6 separate regions of the Homo sapiens genome follow, and regions 2, 3, 4, 5 and 6 are each linked to region 1. The links are contacts of gene promoters, found by promoter capture Hi-C in blood cells and fetal thymus (Javierre and others, 2016). All regions are on one chromosome and are shown on one strand. The core of a region is centred on a gene start or on the middle of the fragment in contact, and the rest is flanking DNA. Distances in the headings are between cores, read along the strand shown.

What was found. The method cuts DNA at HindIII sites, captures the fragments that hold promoters and counts their contacts. A CHiCAGO score of 5 or more calls a contact.
Region 2: the fragment with the promoter of NCAPD3 here is called in contact with the fragment with the promoter of CCDC90B in region 1 in 1 of 17 cell types (activated CD4 T cells); the score reaches 7.5 in activated CD4 T cells.
Region 3: a contact is called between a fragment that was not itself captured here and the fragment with the promoter of CCDC90B in region 1, in 2 of 17 cell types (total CD4 T cells and activated CD4 T cells). The highest score is 9.8, in total CD4 T cells.
Region 4: a contact is called between a fragment that was not itself captured here and the fragment with the promoter of CCDC90B in region 1, in 1 of 17 cell types (naive CD8 T cells). The highest score is 9.8, in naive CD8 T cells.
Region 5: a contact is called between the fragment with the promoter of TNKS1BP1 here and the fragment with the promoter of CCDC90B in region 1, in 4 of 17 cell types (total CD4 T cells, total CD8 T cells, naive CD8 T cells and 1 more). The highest score is 10.3, in total CD4 T cells.
Region 6: a contact is called between the fragment with the promoter of YPEL4 here and the fragment with the promoter of CCDC90B in region 1, in 2 of 17 cell types (fetal thymus and naive CD8 T cells). The highest score is 9.4, in fetal thymus.

The regions. Positions count from the first base shown.
Region 1 is chr11:83,285,013-83,287,803 of GRCh38, reverse strand. It overlaps CCDC90B (coiled-coil domain containing 90B), which reads left to right and starts at 1,437. Exons shown (of 9, transcript NM_021825.5): 1 at 1,437-1,931. The coding sequence starts at 1,832. It overlaps CCDC90B-AS1 (CCDC90B antisense RNA 1), which reads right to left and starts at 1,684. Exons shown (of 3, transcript NR_186344.1): 1 at 1,257-1,684. RefSeq lists enhancers at 1,400-2,049, 1,472-2,067, 2,100-2,179, 2,068-2,664. The HindIII fragment of the contact is 4,800 bases long and covers 983-2,791 here.
Region 2 is chr11:134,222,633-134,225,423 of GRCh38, reverse strand. It overlaps NCAPD3 (non-SMC condensin II complex subunit D3), which reads left to right and starts at 1,457. Exons shown (of 35, transcript NM_015261.3): 1 at 1,457-1,561. The coding sequence starts at 1,498. It overlaps VPS26B (VPS26 retromer complex component B), which reads right to left and starts at 753. Exons shown (of 6, transcript NM_052875.5): 1 at 79-753. The coding sequence starts at 301. RefSeq lists enhancers at 1-16, 117-176, 967-1,016 and a silencer at 377-846. The HindIII fragment of the contact is 9,666 bases long and covers 1-2,791 here.
Region 3 is chr11:43,355,141-43,357,931 of GRCh38, reverse strand. No RefSeq gene overlaps it. Among named protein-coding and RNA genes, the nearest start is that of TTC17, 2.4 kb to the left of the region's middle. The HindIII fragment of the contact is 3,070 bases long and covers 1-2,791 here.
Region 4 is chr11:113,314,605-113,317,395 of GRCh38, reverse strand. TTC12 (tetratricopeptide repeat domain 12) reads right to left here. Exons shown (of 22, transcript NM_017868.4): 1 at 2,778-2,791; 2 at 1,081-1,153. The coding sequence starts at 1,138. Among named protein-coding and RNA genes, the nearest start is that of TTC12, 1.4 kb to the right of the region's middle. RefSeq lists silencers at 2,443-2,542, 2,435-2,729, 2,753-2,791. The HindIII fragment of the contact is 180 bases long and covers 1,367-1,546 here.
Region 5 is chr11:57,323,621-57,326,411 of GRCh38, reverse strand. TNKS1BP1 (tankyrase 1 binding protein 1) reads left to right here and starts at 1,460. Exons shown (of 12, transcript NM_033396.3): 1 at 1,460-1,572. It overlaps SSRP1 (structure specific recognition protein 1), which reads left to right. Exons shown (of 17, transcript NM_003146.3): 17 at 1-424. The coding sequence ends at 5. RefSeq lists enhancers at 294-1,167, 1,197-1,246 and a silencer at 1,377-1,656. The HindIII fragment of the contact is 11,807 bases long and covers 893-2,791 here.
Region 6 is chr11:57,648,451-57,651,241 of GRCh38, reverse strand. YPEL4 (yippee like 4) reads left to right here and starts at 1,330. Exons shown (of 5, transcript NM_145008.3): 1 at 1,330-1,557. MIR130AHG (MIR130A host gene) reads right to left here. Exons shown (of 2, transcript NR_186232.1): 2 at 1-944. The HindIII fragment of the contact is 14,007 bases long and covers 1-2,791 here.

The sequences.
Region 1 (2,791 bases), core at 188-2,687:
GACTGCACTCCAGCCTGAGTGACGCAGCAAAACCCTGCCTCAAGCCAAAAAAAAAAAAAAAAAAAAAAAGACACATGCAACCGTATGTTCATTGTAGTGCCATTCACGATAGCAAGGACATGAAATCAACCTAAGTGCCCATCAACAGTGGACTGGATAAAGAAAATGTGGTACATATACACCATGGAATATAATGCAGCCATAAAAATAAGGAAATTATACTCTTTGTAGCAACATGGATGGAACTGGAGCCATTATCCTATGCAACCTAATGCCAAGAACAGAAAACCAAATACACATGTTCTCACTTATAAGTAGGAGCTAAACATTGAATATATGATGGTAAACGTGGAAACAACAGGCATTGAGGATCATTAGATGAGGAAAGGGGGAGACGGACAGAGGGGCATGGGTTGAAAAAGCACCTGTTGAGTACTATGCTTACATCCTGTTGGGATCATTGGGACCCCTAACCTCGATATACCCTAAGGTTTTGCGTTTTGTATTTTGAAACTGGTAAGATCAAACTTTTTTCCCAATTTTTTTTTTTTTTTTTTAGATCGAGTCTCACTCTGTCGCCCAGGCTGGAGTGCAATGGTGTGATCTCGACTCACTGCAACCTCCGCCTCCAGGATTCAAGCGATTCTCCTACCTCAGCCTCCTGAGTAGCTGGGATTACAGGCATGTGCCACCACGCCCGGCTAATTTTGTATTTTTAATATAGACAGGGTTTCTCCACGTTGGTCAGGTTGGTCTCGAACTCCCGACCTCAGGTGATCTGCCCGCCTCGGCCTCCCAAAGTGCTGGAATTACAGGCATGAGCCACCACGCCCAGCCATCCCAGTGTTTTAAATAGCAATTTATATTTCCTCTTCATGAATTGTCTGTTAAAGCAGTTGTTGGCGGGAATCAAGTTTTGTTCTTTCAATGTGCTTCGGGCCTTAGAAATGGTGTTTGTTACTTAGTTGACTCTCACAAAGCTTTGAATACATATAGATAGAAACCTAGCCGTAATTGTTTAGAATCTTGAGAGAGTAAGCCACTAACACCGCACAACTGTGTGCCATTTTACAACTTACAGAGAATATTCATGAGTATTAGTGCATTTTAATACAACTACTGTGCATTGTTGCTTTCAGCATTTTACTATGCGGAGCAGTCTTGAGTAACTGAGGTCTGAGAAGGATAAATGGTGAAAATTCAAGGAATTTCTCCTAGAAACGGAGGAATTCGGCTTCCCTAAAGAAAGGACATACCGACTGAAATAGTTGGTCCTCCCGTGCACCAGAGGGTGAAGCAGCAGGATGTGACGCCTCACGAAAAGTGAGCGGCTTGCTGGACTACACTTCCCAGAAGGTTTCGTTGGCCCTCGCACTACGCAATCACCCAGAACGCTCAGCGGCCGAAAACTTCAGGTTCCAGGCTGCTGTGCGGCTAAATGCGACTCCATCTCCCCCGACCCAAGCGCGTAATGGCCGCTGGCTATCTTGGGGGAGCCAGCTGTTGGACTATGCCCCACTGCCAGGAAACAGGCGCCGGAAGGTTCTCTGACAAGATCTCGCTTTCCTAGGGCGGTGAAGGCGTTCAAAGGTCGGGAAGGGGCGCTGGGAGAAGCGGGGCAGCGCTGAGCCATGCTCGCGAACTGTGGGTCTGTCTGTGAAGAGACCCAGTTTCGTGGGACCACGGTGGCGCCTGCGCTGGGAGGTGAGCTTGTGACAGAGCGAAAACTACAATTCCCAGCATTCCTGTGGTGCCAGAACTACCTTGCCCGAAAGCCTGTGCGAGATTTACCCCGTCTTCCGCCTCCCTCCCACCGGAAAACTCTGAGGACATGAATAGTCGCCAGGCTTGGCGGCTCTTTCTCTCCCAAGGCAGAGGAGATCGTTGGGTTTCAAGGCCCCGCGGGCATTTCTCGCCGGCCCTGCGGAGAGGTGAGGCAAGGCGTCGTGTCATAGATGCCTGAGTGCTCTCTAGGGAGACGATGCCCGTGGGGTCGCGCCTGCTCGAGCGAACGGGAAGAGAAGGTGCCACGCCCTCCTCCCGGATTCACGCCTTGTGCTGGGCGACGCCGCTGCCTGCTGCCCCGACTTGCCCAGCTCGCCCCAAGGGGCGAGGACTGAGGAAAGCACTGCCTTTCTGTTCTTAAAGCGAACCTTTGAAGGCCTGGGCTTCGCGCCCGGCTTCTTTCTCAGCCGTTGTTTCCGTTTTTTGGTGACAAGAGGCTAGTAATCTCGTCAGGAGCCAACGTAAGGTAATCTGTGTTTGAGGGTGTCCTGTTTTCTTTTGTGGCCTGATCAAATTTTGATTTTGTTTTTTTAGGTGCTGGCCTCGAGCCCAGGTTTTTGGTAGACAGCATCATAAATTTCAGGCCACGTCTGCCTTATTCTCACTGGAATTCTCAGTACATTTCAGTCACATTGTAGACTTTGGGAAAATAAGTGAATACTGGAACCCACAAGTTTCCAACCTGTTGGCACCCCTGTTAACAGGGTGTCCTGAAGACATCTAACTTTATTCAGAGAAATGTTTCTAGGGCTAGGTTTTTGTTGTCGTCGTTGTTTTTCACCCCCAGTTTTTTAACTTCCCTCCCAGTTTTTAAACCGTTTTAAGGTTGTCCACAAAATAGGCGAATAGGCACCTCTTATCTCTGTTCACCTTCTTGAATCTTCAGTGCCAGGTACGCTGAGCCATTCGGTACCCAAACACTTCTACGCTGTTATTTATACTCCATATTGTTACTTGTGCTATTTTGCTCATTGTTTCATTTTAATCCACACCAGTAACAGCTGCA
Region 2 (2,791 bases), core at 208-2,707, about 51 Mb before region 1:
GAGGAGCTGGGCCCTGAATCACCCTGCTCCCCGGCCGGCTGTCGGCGCTGGGGGAGGGGGTCCCGGGGGTCGACTCACCGATCTGCCCGATGAACTCGATCTTGATGCCCTGGTGCTCCAGCCGCTTGTTGGGGTTCTTGAGGGCAAGGCTCACCTTCCCGGAGACCGTCTCCCCGTCGTAGAAGAGGAAATATTTCTCCTTCTTCCCGTCCTCCGTCTTGTGCTCGGCCCGCTTCCTACTCTCTGCATCGTTCAGAAGGATTTCCACCTCCACGCTCTGCCCGAAGCCGAAGAAGCTCATCGCACCGCCGGGCCGGGCGGGTCTCGGTAAGGACCGCTCCCTCGCACCGGGGCGCGGGCTGCCCTAGGTAAAGAAGGCCAGAGGGCCCGATGCGCGAGCGCGCTCGGCCGCCGCGGGGCTGCCTGGCTCCGCCGCTGCCGCCGGGCAGTGGGCGCCGACGGACAGCCGGCTCCACGGGGGAGGGGCACGGCCGGGGGAGGCTGGCGGCTGCGGGCTGCGGCGCCCGAGCAGCAATGCACCGAGGAGCAGTGCCCTCGGCCGAGCCAGTCCCAGCCAGTCCCGCGGCCGGTGGCAGTGGGCGGGCGAGGGTCGGCCGTGCAATGCTGCGGGGGGCAGCCGCACAGAGCCGGGTGTGGGTGGCCTGCGCCTGCCGGGTGGGGTCCAGCGCCGAGCAGCGCTGCGAGCTGCCCAGCCTCCGGCGGTGCAACGCACCGAGGCGCTTCGGCGGCTCCGGGCGGGGGAGGGGGCGGGCGAGCTCCAGCCCGGATGCGCTGGAGCAGCGGCGCGCAGGCGCACCCCCTAACGCTCCTGGGACTCCCGGCAGCCCGGAGGAGAGCTCGCTGCGCATGCGCAGGGAGAGCGCGGCCGGCGCTCCAGCGGTCGGCATGGCAGCTGCTACCTCGCTGGGACAGGCTCTGGGCCCACGCGTGCCGCGCAGTCCCTACAGAACTGCAGTTGTCTTGTCTTCTCGGAGTGCTTTCGGCTACTTTTCCCTTATTACTTTAGCTCGATACACGTTGGGCTGCCTTTCACATTCGGATATTACGCTGTTCGAGTGCTGACGGGAAAGGCAGCCCTTTGACACGCACGCGAAATGTCGCCTGACGAGGGCAAAGGTGACAGTTACTACCGGAAGTACCCTATCTCAGATACCCTTTAGATTTTCCCCCATTGAAGAAAAACGAGGCGGGAAAAACGCTGTTAGGGTTTAACTCAGGCCCTGGCTCCTTCTCGAACGAATTAGCGGAACACCCGCAGGAGCCTTGTTTGGCTTCCACTTTTCGGCCCGCCCAGTTCTCTGAGCGTGCGGCGGACGACGCCGGTGATTGGTTGAGCGAATGGAAACGGCTCGGCGCGGTGGTTGGCCAGTGGGAAATTCTGTACGTTGTGATTGGTCCACAGGAACGACTCGGCGCGCGCGCGGGAGCGAGCTTTGAAAGTTGAGCACGGCGGCGGCGAGCCGGTGCCCTGGGATCATGGTGGCGTTGCGGGGCCTTGGTAGCGGCCTGCAGCCCTGGTGTCCGCTGGATCTTAGACTCGGTGAGCAGATGCAGCCGGGAGGCCCGGGGGCCAGGGCGAGGGTCCTATGCGTCCCCGACGATGCCTAAGCCCGGGCCGGGGTGCCGGTGGGGGCGGGGTGGGGGCGCCCGGCTGTCGGCGGTGCCTGGGGTCCCCAGGGCCGTGCCACGCCAGGATTGCGGCTAGCCAGGTTTCCCGTGGGGGCTCAAGCCGGCCAGGCCACCCTTAGAATAAGCGAATGTTGGCCAGTCTCTTCTAGCGCCTGTGCATCTGTTTTCTCGGCCTTCCCCTTCTTCCTGTGCGTGTCTTCGTGCACCTATCTATTCTTACCTATTAAGATGGTTTTAAATTGCAAATCTCTTTCTTCCGCCAGACTTATTTCTTGAACTTCATGTTCATAGGTTCCACTGGATGTCTCACATGCAGACATCATCAAACGTCACATGAGTGAAAATGGGATTCCCAAAGCCTGCTAATGGCACCATCCAAGCCACCAACCCAGGAGTCATGGCATTTCTGCTTCCCCTTTCATGCCCACTACCACTGTCCTGCCTCTGAGGTGTCTCAGGGCAGCCCCGCTCCATTCCTGATGCTGCTGCCTTCATCATAGCCTCGAGCAATTGCAGGAGTATTTTAGCTGCTTTCTGATGTTAACTGTGCCAGCCCATCCCCCACACTTTTGCAGAACGACTTTTGAAAACACAGCTTTGAATGTGTCAAGCCTGTACACCTTTAATGTTTCCCCTTTGTTTCCTAAATAAATGACCACATCCTTGGCATGCTTTATAAGAGCTGCCATTCTCTCCAGTTTGATTTTCCAAGAGCATAACCTTTGGAGTCGGACACACTTGGATTGTTCCCTTGGCTCTACCCCATAGCATCCATGTATTACCGTGCAGGTTGTTTATCCTTGCTAAACCCCTGTTTTCTGATCTGTCAAATGGGGAGTACAATATCTACCTCACAGGGGTTTTTGTAAAGATAAATTTGTACTTGCCACATAATAACTGCTGAACAGATACTAATACCCACAAGCAAACACTGTAACAATTTTGTTCATTTAGAAACACTTTAATTTCTTTCCCTTTGTGTGCTTTGTTACACTGTGCTTGCTGGGAGGCACTTTTCTGCATTTATTTGCCTGGCAAAACTCTTACATTCAGGTCCAATTGAAGAATCATCTTATTCCTCTCCCTCCTCCCCCAGTACTATTCCCTATTAAGCTCTGTAGCATTTTACATTTTACATATC
Region 3 (2,791 bases), core at 217-2,716, about 40 Mb after region 1:
AGGTTGGTATGCTTTTGGTTTTCTCCTTGGGAAAAGAAGGATGAGAATATTGTTTAACCACTTCTCTACACAAGTGTATGCAGGAGAGCAGTTGCTAAGTGTTTAAACACCACGCTATAGAAATGTAGAAACAACCACAGCATTGGTGTTTTTTTTTTCTTCATTCCAGGAACAGCTTTTCTTAAAGGCCTGAAGACTGAACATTCATTTCATTAAAAATATATGGCTTATTTGCTTTTTGCCTGGTACTCTGATAGTCTCTGGGTATGGAAATGTAACCATTGGGCAGTGTGCAATATAGTGAGATATTATTGGCAGGTTAACAATTAAAATACAGGATAATGGGGGTGTATGAATGCATATGTACAGGAGAGAGCAACCAACCAGGTGAAAAAAAGGTTTGGAGCTCAGGTGCTGGTTCAGGCAGAATAATAAGTGAAAAGGTGAAGTTGGCCGGGCGCGGTGGCTCACGCCTGTAATCCCAGCACTTTGGGAGGCCGAGGTGGATGGATCACTGAGGTCAGGAGTTCAAGACTGGCCTGGCCAAGATGGTGAAACCCCGCCTCTACTAAAAATACAAAAATCAGCCGGGCATGGTGGCGGGCACCTGTAATTCCAGCTACTTGGGAGGCTGAGGCAGAGAATTGCTTGAACACGGGAGGCGGGGATTGCAGTGAGCCGAGATCACACCACTGCACTCCAGCCTAAGTGACAGAGCGAGAATCCGTCTCAAGAAACGAAAAGGTGAAGTCAGTGGCATGTTTTAAGAGTTTCTTGGAGTTTAGACATAGGCAATAGGGAGTGTTTCAGAATTTTAAAATAGAGAAGTGGCAAATGATGGAATCCCTTTTGTCTCAGCATCTTATTTTTGGGGCATAGAGGTCAACCCTATTTCTTGTGTATAAAGCTGACATCATCATCATCTAACATTTCTTGAGTGTTTAATACGTACTGGGTCCTGTACATGCATAGTTCCTATTAATCGTCACAACTTACCAAGCTCTGGCTAGTTAAGTAAGTTGGCCAAGATCATATTGCTAAGTGGTAGAGCTCAGGTTTGGACTCAGATCCACCTGACTCTAGATCTGAGAGCCTGAGAATGAATGAATGTTAGTGAGGAATTTGAGAAAGGCCCCAGCATCACATATTTTGCTATCAGCAATTTCTTTGACCTTCACAAGTTAACCTCTAAAGGGGTGGAATTATAGCTTCTATAGCTTTATTATACCACCTATTTTCTGTAGATGATAACTCTTATCTTTTGGGATCCTGTATTAGTTTTCTAATGCTGTGTAACAATTGCCACAAACTTAGCTTAACACATTATCTGACAGTTTCCTTGGGGCAAAAGTCTTCTGCTGTGGTGTGACTGAGTTCTCTGCTCAGTGTCACAAGGCTCATATCAAGGCTGCAATCTCATCTGAGGCTTGGGGTTCCTCAGTCAAGCTCATTCTTCAAGTCCTTGGCAGAATTCAATTTATTGCCAATGTAGGACTGAGGGCTCCATTTTCTTACTGGCTGCTGATTGTGGCCATTAACATTGAGGCTACCCACAGTTTTCTGCCATGTGGCTCTCACAATGGCAGTTATTCCTTGAAGGCAAGCAGAATATTTCCACTGCTGAAATCTCTTGAATTCCTCTATCTCTAAGCCTAGACTTAAAGGGCTCATGTGAGTTGATAAGGTCTATCTGAATAATATCCCTTTTTATTCAACTGATTAGTAACTTTAATGCCATCTGCAAAAATTTCGTTTGCCATATAACATTATCTTAGTCCATTTTGTGTTGTTATAACAGAATACCTAAAGCTGGGCAATTCATAAAGAAAAGAGGTTTAATTGGCTTATGATTCTGGTGGCTGAAAAGTCCAAGATTGGGCAGCCGCATCTGGTAAGGGCCTCACGCTGCTTCCACTTAGGGAGGAAAGCAGAAGGGGAGTGGGTGTGCATAGAGATCACATGTTGAGAGAAGCAGCAAGAGAGACAAATCAAGAAAGCCAAACTCTTTTAACAACCCACACTCGAGAACTAATTCATTCCTGAGAGAGCAAGAACTCACCTCCCCCCCCACCACCGTGAGGGCATTAATCTGTTCATGACAGATCCACCCCCATGACCCAGAAACCTTCCACTAGGCCCCATCTCCCAACACTGCCACATTGGGTACCAAATTTCAACATGAGTTTTGGCGGCCCTAACCACATCCAAACCTATGATCACAGGAGTGATATCGTATTCATGTTTTACCCACATAGTCAAGTTAGGAAATTTCCCCCTTTTCTACTCTATTAAGGTGAAATGGACAAAATTGTATATATTTAGTGTACAACATGATGTTTTAATATACGTAGGGGAGATTTTATGCGGGCAAGGACCATTGGGTATCATCTTAGAATTTTGCCTACCACAGATCTTGACTGCCAAGTACCATTCTTCTAGTCTTTCACTGAACTGTTTTAAGTATCACAGACTAATTTAGACATACTTTTGCTCCTGTTCCCTGCCTAAAATCCTTTCCTCATGCTGCTTTCTCAAATCTATTTAAGATACAGTTGAAATCCTAGCCTGCAAAAATGTCTGTCAACTTGTTTGCCACCTCTGAATTCTGTCAGTAATATGACAATACTATGCTGCTTTGTGATATTATTTTATAAACTTTGAACAGCCAAACTCTTGAGTGGTTCTTGCAATAGTTCTTAGTTCTAATCTGGTGAGGCAGAACACTCAAACAGTAAGTCAGGCAAAGCAAATTTTTTACAAATAGGCAGCAAAGATACACAGAAATGGAGGA
Region 4 (2,791 bases), core at 207-2,706, about 30 Mb before region 1:
GTAAATTTCTGGATGGTGGTGTCACCAACTGAGACCAGGATGAAGGTGAGGGTAGGAGAAGCAGGTTTTATTTGGGAGGGGGAGGGCAAAGGGGAGGGAAAGAGATGATGCCTCAATTTTGGACACATTTAAGTTTATTTGTGGGATACAGTAGGTATGACAGTACCATAGAGGCAGAGGCTCAGAAAAGAAGGCTAAGTGTCCATGTAGATGTGGGGGTCATGAACAAACAGGTGGCAGGTAAAGCTACATGTTTAGACCAGCTGAAGAGAAAGGTGGCAGTGGGCCAAGGCCAGAGCTCCATGGAACAGCATTCAGGGATAAGCATTATTCATGTATCATTTACGATGTCACCCAAGCTAGCTTTAAAACCACTTTATTCCTTGAACCCATACAATCTGCTACAAGCAGCAATTTCAGCATATTGCCTGTATTTACTATGTAAGGTCTGTTTGCTTGTTGGTTTGTTTGTTTCTATACTCAAGCAAGCTCCCTGAACAGGGACTGACAGGTTTGGAAATTCCTGAATGTGATCTGTGGGATCAGAGTACATTTCTTTGAGATCCAACCTGCCTGAACTTGGGAAAGGACTTTCTTGTCTAGAGAGAGAGAAGGGAATGATGATCATAAACCATCCATGTAATTTGATGGATCCTAAAGGAAAGCCATTTGATTTTGCCTCTGCAGCTCTAAAACAGAAATGGCTCTACTCTAAAACGGGAGGAATCTCACACTGATCAATGAGGTTCTTGACCCTTGAAGGGAACAGCTGGGTTCATTGTCAATGGGGAAACAGCAGCTGGTTTTGACTGGATTCCACATAGAAGGATACAAAATATGGAAGAAAACCGTCAGCCTGAATTCCTATCAGAATGTTAACAGTTTCTCTGATACCAATTAACAGCCAGAAAATACAGCCCTGAGGCTATAACTTGTTTCTCAATACCCTTCTCTTTAATTTCAATTACATTTTTTTCCTAAGAGTTATAAACCTGTCAAGCCACCCAGGAACTTAGAGCAATCATTTATCTACTCCACTTCTCTAAAGCAGAAATTAATTTATGATTTACTAGTACTTACAGATTTCATCCACATTTTTAAGAAATTTCTGCAAATCTTTCTCTTTATCAGCATCCATTGTGAACCGGAATCCCTAAGGGATGCAGCATAATGGTGAAATTAATAATAATAAAGCACTAAACAGAACGGTCAGGCTTATTAGCCTTCTAAAACTAAGAGCCAAGTGATTATTTTTATGACAGTTTTGTTTATGTCAATGAATAACAGCAGGGTGATCCCTTTCATTCCAACTGCTGTTTTAGGCCAAGAGGCACTCATTTACGTGCGGCAATGCTTCCAGAAAGCTTCCAGCCCTCCTTCCAGTGCAGAAAACGCTCTGCAAATAGTTCTTCCAAAGCCAACATCAACCCCGGCGATTTAGGGACCTGGCATGGAGATGAGAAGAGAGCAGATGACAGGTTGCCAAGGATAGAGAAATACACTAACACCTGACTTTGATCATGACAGGCTGGTCTAGTCAGAAGCTTAAATGTGGATGTGTGACAGGTAACAAACTTGGGGCAATTTGCATCTAAATGTCCATACTTGTTTAAAATCTGCCTTTGGCTTGTTTCTGAAGAGTGAAGAAAGGGTACAAATTGACTGAAGGGATTAGAACATAATGTTACCATGCTCACCAGCGTCTCTTCTGCTCTAGGTACCTCAGATATTATTTTACAGTTGTTTTTGTGCGAGAAGGCCCCGTGGTGTACCCAGCAGTACTCAGTGGTTCATCCACAGATCATAAAAATCATCGGGAAGATTGTTAAATATACAGCTTCCTCAGCCGTAGCCCGAGATTTCAAGTCAGTAAACCCGGGACATTGCCCAGACACGAATATAGATTTTAAACACTTTCCAGGTGATTCTCATTTATGGCCAGGTTTCATAGTAGTGTAACACGCTTCTAACACGTAATCTGCCACGAACAAACTACGAGTGATTTAATCGAGTCTCAGTGTCCTCATCTCCACCAGTTACAAGCTGTGTGATTCTGGCTAAATTCACAACCTCTCCGAGCCTCAGAGTCCTCACCCATACTATGGGAACAGTAAGAGAGAAACTACGAGGACTATTCTGGGGACTGATGTAAAGCACCAGGCACGCGACGAGTCCTCACCGTGAAGCACCCTTACCTATATAAAACAGGGGGTGGGGTTGCGGCTTAACTGAATAATCGCTAGGGTTTCTTCCAGGTCAAATCTTTTCAACTCCCACGGAACAGAGGCCTAGTCCAGTGAATTAATCTGCCCAACGGTATGAAGGTTAGAAGGCAGGCGCGCGGGTGCATGGACAGGAGACAACCTCTGTCTCCCAGGGCATGGATCTCAGGGTCCTCACTGCCTGGCCAGTGCCCCCCTACGCTAGGGTGAGAGGGCCAGAGCCAGGTGATGGCGAAGCGGCGCCGCGCTCAGTGCTTCACTCGGTAGGGCTGCGGCAGCGGGGACCTGTGCCCGAGCCCCGCGCGGAGCCTGCCCCAGACGCGCGCTGCCCGCCGGGCGCAAAGAGGCCAGGCCGCACGCACTGTTGCCCAGCAACCGCTCCCAGGCGTCCGCAAGTCCCGGGCCCTCCATGCAGGTCCCAGACCGCAGCCGTCCCAGACCGCAGCCAAGACCTTCCCATGCTCTGGGGCCCAAAGCAGCGTCCTCTGCTCGGCTCTGAAGGCCAGTGCAGGACCAGCTCCCAGGGGGGATTCCGGGGTACCCCGCGGCACCGACCTGATTCGCCCAGC
Region 5 (2,791 bases), core at 211-2,710, about 26 Mb after region 1:
AGTAGAAACGGAGGAAGGTTCTCTTTGCGCTTGCCTTCTCACACCCCCCGACTCCCCACCCATATTTTGGTACCAGTTTCTCCTCATGAAATGCAGTCCCTGGATTCTGTGCCATCTGAACATGCTCTCCTGTTGGTGTGTATGTCACTAGGGCAGTGGGGAGACGTCTTAACTCTGCTGCTTCCCAAGGATGGCTGTTTATAATTTGGGGAGAGATAGGGTGGGAGGCAGGGCAATGCAGGATCCAAATCCTCATCTTACTTTCCCGACCTTAAGGATGTAGCTGCTGCTTGTCCTGTTCAAGTTGCTGGAGCAGGGGTCATGTGAGGCCAGGCCTGTAGCTCCTACCTGGGGCCTATTTCTACTTTCATTTTGTATTTCTGGTCTGTGAAAATGATTTAATAAAGGGAACTGACTTTGGAAACCATGTCCTCATGCTTTCTTTGTAGCCTTGGTGTGTTGCTCCCACTTTTATTGGTGGTGTTTACTGCTCTGGTCAGACTGGGCAGGGCCTTCCTGGCCAGCCGGGAAGCAAGTCTCGAGGTACATCCTGTTCTGTTCCCGGCTGGACGAGCATTGGTTTTCACCCGCCTCTGCCCGGATGGGCCACCTGAGAGTCTAGAAATGAGAGCTGATCTGATTAGGAAGTTTCTCCCAGTTACACTCCATTAGCCAACCAAGCTAGGGGGAGGCAGCTCTTGGCTGCATCCTTACCTATGAGTCAAGGGTCTTCCAAGGCTTTCGATAATGAAATCAGGATTGACTGTCCTTCCCGCAGCCGGGGGAGTGGAAACCTGAGCCTGGAGAGTCGGGGAGGATGAGCGTGTGCGTAGAGTGGTGGTGGTTGCAGCCTGGTGGTGGTGCAACAAAGTACGGAGTTATATGTGAAGCTTTTGTTCTTACGGGAAGAAGGGGGTATACAAACTTCAGTGTAGGGAGGAACCCATGTCTGAGAAGGGGCCTAAAAGGAGATAAAGGTCACTAATGAGGAATGCAGAGCTGCCAGACTTCTTCACGGTGGCTCTAAATCTGAATTGACACAGGAGGGTGGCCACGTTGCGCGCGTTCTCAGCACTCAGGTGGTTGTATCAGGAAGCCGCTTCAGTCAGCCGGCGGCTACCTTCTTGCCGGCGTAGCTCGATGATACTGTGCTCTGTGCAGGCGGCGGAGCCCGGGAGGGGCCGCCAAGGCAGTTTCTCTAGGCAGTCGTCTCGGTGGCCATTTTACCCGAGCGCTCCCGGCTGAATTGCGTCAGTTTCGCCCCGGTCTGAGACTGGGGCGGGCCCCTCATCTGCAAGCCTCATGAATAATTGAGTGCTGGGCCGCGCCTGTTTGCCGACGGTGGGACGAATTCTGCACGGGCTTCCCACTCCCGGGTTCCAACCGGCTCATGCATATTCATGAAGCGCCCTGGGGGCGTGGACCTGGGCGGAGTTGGGGCGGGGCCCCGCCGGGGCTCGCAGTGGCTTCGTCCCGCGGTGACGGCGGCGGCGGCGGCGGTAGCAGCGGCGGCGGCGGCGGGGACTGGCATCGGGGCCCCGAGCCGAGCGGAGCCGGACCCCGGGCGAGCGCGTGAGTGCGCGGGGGCGGTCGGGCGAAGGAGGGGGCGGGGTCCGGGATGGGGCGGGGGAGGGGCATGGAAGGAGTGGGTGCTTTCCAGCCGACACCTCGGGTTGAGGTGGTGGTGGTCGGGGGGTCACCAGGAAAGTTTGCAGGGGCCGAGGGCGCTGGGGACGCTGGAGGCCCGGGGGAAGGTGGCGCGTGTGCGCGGAGGCGGAGGGCGCATGGCTTGGAGCTCGTGCTGGCAGAGCCAGAAGAAAGGGGGGAGGGGGCGAGGGCTTGGGGCGGGGCCGGGGGCGGGCAGAGCCGCTGGAGGGACCCCTGCCTCCCCTTCCTCCGGGCCGCGCTAGCCCCCTCCCCCGGCTCCTTCGGCACGCCCCCAGCCACCCCAGTCCGCCCCCACCTGATCGACGTCTGCAGCCCACCGTCTGTTCGCCGGCTGCTTCACAGCCCGCTCACAGGTCCTCCGCTTCTGCCGCCACCGCAGCCCCCTCCTCCTCCTCCTCTTCGGCTGCCGCCGTCCCTTCTGTGTCCAGAGCTCCCCACTGGGCCCCTCCAGACAGCCCATTGCCCGGGGCTGTTCCATCTTCCCGTTGGCCCTCCCTCTTTCCAGCAGTTTACGTGCTGTCCCTGCCGACCTCTCTAGCCTCGGATCCGGCTGGAGATCCTGGGGTCCATAGGGGCGACCCCGCCTGCGCCGAGTCCCCTCCGGGGCTGGAGCTGCCCAGCCCTTCTGGAGGCCTTATCTGCCAGGGGTCAGCTCGTTTCTACCCTGCTACCCTCTACCCCCTGGTCTCTTGAGGGTGGGGAGTGCTCAGAACCGCTGCGAATCGCAGCTTCTGGCCACAGCCTTGGTGGCCTTGGTCACCTGGGGCCCCTGGCTGGGGTCTCTGAGTTGCTGTGGCCACCTCCGCACCTGGGGACTCTGAGCCCGCCTTCATTGCTGCAGCCCCTCATACCGCAGAGGGGCCCATCAGAACCCCAGGTGAAAGGATTTTTTTGGTTCTGAGCCAATTAATTTCCATCTCCAACCACCCACACTATGTTCCTAGTAATAATGTTCAAGGACAAGGAAACAATCTTGTGTTTTAATTTTATTTTTTCTATCATGTGCCCCTCCCCCCACCACACTTGGCCTGGCTCTGCACAGTTATTCACCCACCCACAGTGGGCAGTCTTCCGTGGTGGTTAACTGACCAATGGGTTGACAGTACTGGGTTTCTCTACTGTC
Region 6 (2,791 bases), core at 81-2,580, about 26 Mb after region 1:
GATAAAGGCAAAAGAAAGGAAATAAAATGAAGATATTTTCTTAATACAAGTGTATATATGCACAAACATGTTCCTAACAAAAGGAGGAGGAAATACTCATGACAATTACAGTCCTCATTTTCTGCAGCTGGTCACATGGTCATAGTTCGTATTGATGACTACCTTCTTTGACTACCCATTCTGAATTCCGTTTGCCTTCAGCAAGCACCTCAGCAGATTATGTTTTTTTTACCTGGTGGAGTGACCCAAACCTTCATTCCTGAAGGGTCTGGGCCATTTGTCATCCTGCCTGGATTGGGCTGTTGCAGTTTCCCATTGACCTTAATCACAGGGCATGGTAATATTAAGAGACGCCCTACGTGATCTCCTGTATTCCACGCATACTTCCTTACCGCCATTGTGGAGTAGTAGACTGATTTCATCTTGATAGTCTGGGTCAAACACTGTAACTCCCTTCTTAGCAAGTTGGCTTAAAAGTAAGAAGAGCCCAAAGTGGCCAGGTGGCAATCTTAACTTCCAGTTTAATGGAATCATTGTTGTGTCTCTTGGTGGCAGCATTCCTCCCTCTGGAACTAAGACCTCTAGGCCAGCAGAACATAATGCCGCGGAAACAACTGCTATTTTGGAAACATCTAAATGCACGGGTCTGCACTGGACATTGCAGTCCTGGGATGTAGAGAGTAATTTCCCAGAAGGCCTGTCTCAGGAAGTTTACAGCCCAATAGAGAACTTCATATAACGTAGGTGTCTCCATTCATGAAGCACGCATAATATGGAGGTAGCTGTTAAGGGGTTCCTGCATGCAAAATGTCACATTGGGTCTATTACTCCTTCAGGAGTATTAAACCAAGGCTTTGAGGCTTGGTACAAGTTTGGGGGCACAGTTTGCCATCCATGACAATTAGTACATCTGTCTTTTCCCTGCTTCAGGGCTGGTGTCCAAGCTGAAATGGGAAAGTGTATCATCTTAAATGTGTGTGTGCTCCCTCACTCTGCATCCATCTCTTCCTTCACCAGCCTTGCCACCTCCTTTCCTCCAGCCCTGCCACCCTCACTGCATCCTTGCCCAGCCCTGTCCTTCCCCCAGGTTCTTCGTATCTCCTTGGCCCCACTGCCTTCCTCCTTAACAACCTGCCTCTCCCCTTGCCCACCATCGCCGCCTTGTCCCTCGGCCCCCACTCCTCTAGCCCCGTCCCTTGATGCCTACCCCCTCCCTTCCTTCCGACCCGCCTCCTGTGTCTCCCAGCCCTGCTCTGACGTGGGAGGTGAGGGGGGGTGGGGGGGATGGATGACTCACAGTGTTATGATGCAGTTCCACAACACACAGCCACATTCACCCACAGACCGAGGTACAGAACGAGAGACAACCTCTGCCCCCCCAGCAGCTGGCCAGCTTTGCAGCCCCAGTCTTGAGCCCCCAACTACCCTCCCCCCACCCACCCCCATCCCCTTCCCAATTGAAGGAGCGGAAAGAGAAGAGAGAAGAGTGAGCAGAGAGATTGAGAGATTGAGAGAGAGAGAGAGAGATAGACGGAGATCTCTGGAGCAGACCTCAAGGTGAGGGGGCAGCCCTTCTCCAAATGAATTTTTTTCTCTTTGCAAATTTCCTCCTCCTGCTGCGTGTTGCTTTCTCCCCTTTGCAAAAGCATTATTCATCCACCCTTTGTCCTCCCTTCCCCCTCCCCGCTGCCTCCGCTCCTCTCTCTCGGTTCCTCCATCCCTCTCCAAGCTCTGACGATTCCCGCACTTATTTCCCGGCAACTTTGGCTGCAGCATCAGGCATCACTGTTTATTGTTTTGCTGCTGGTGCAGACCCCCAAAGCCTGCCCTGGGAGCTGGCGGTGCTGCTAATTATTTGGACCATACCATACTGAGAATACCAGCCTGGGGGGTGCCAAAACCTCAGAGCAGATGAGAAAATCCATTGTGAGCAGGTGTCCCCCCCCTTTTCTTTTCCCCCCTGAGAAGCACGAGATTCGCACCTGGTTCCTCCAGCCTCCGCCTCGGCGCCTCTGCTGTCAGCTGTCAGTTGCCCCCGCCAGCCCTCCCTCTCCCCTTTCTCCTACGGTCCAGCCCCGTCTCACTTCAGGGGAACATCTCTCCCCAGCACTCGGCTTGCCTTTGTTTTTTCTCCAGTCATTTGCCCAACTTGCTTCTCCCTGTGATCCGAGATGGGTGAAAAAATGACCCCTACTCCCCTTTGTGATTCTCTGGCCTTCTGTGCAGCCTTTCCTTGGCTTGACTGGGAATTAGGGGAGAGGGAGGGAGGCGTGACGGCCGGAGGCTGGAGAAGGAGCTCAGGATTGGGGACCCAAGCTGCCCCATTCTCCATGCCCCTTGAAGAAGGTGTTTCAAGGTGGTGCATGTCAGAGGGGAACTCGCTGGCAAAGTTGAAGGCAAACCTGTGAAGCAGAGACTGAAAGGTGGTCTCTTGGCAAGGAGGGCCCGTTTCCTGCAGCCGGAGCCCAATGTCACCCTGAACTCAGCCCAAGGTGTCTTCCTGGGACCCAGCCCGGAGGAGAGGACCTGAAACTGAAGATAGTCTCTATGGAGGTTTTGCGGAGAGACTGCCTGGCGGCCTTCAGAGAGAGTGGAACAGCTGGGTGCCTGTGGCCACTGCGGAGGACAGGACGAGGAGAGCCTGTATGCCCTGGCTAACCAGAGCCAACACTGCCTCTTCTCTGCTTAGTGCTCTAGCATTGCCAGAGTGCCCAGCTGGCATCTCTGAACCAGACTTAGGCTAACCACCCACAGTGGGCTGGGAAGCCCTATGAAGGAGAAAGCAGCAGCT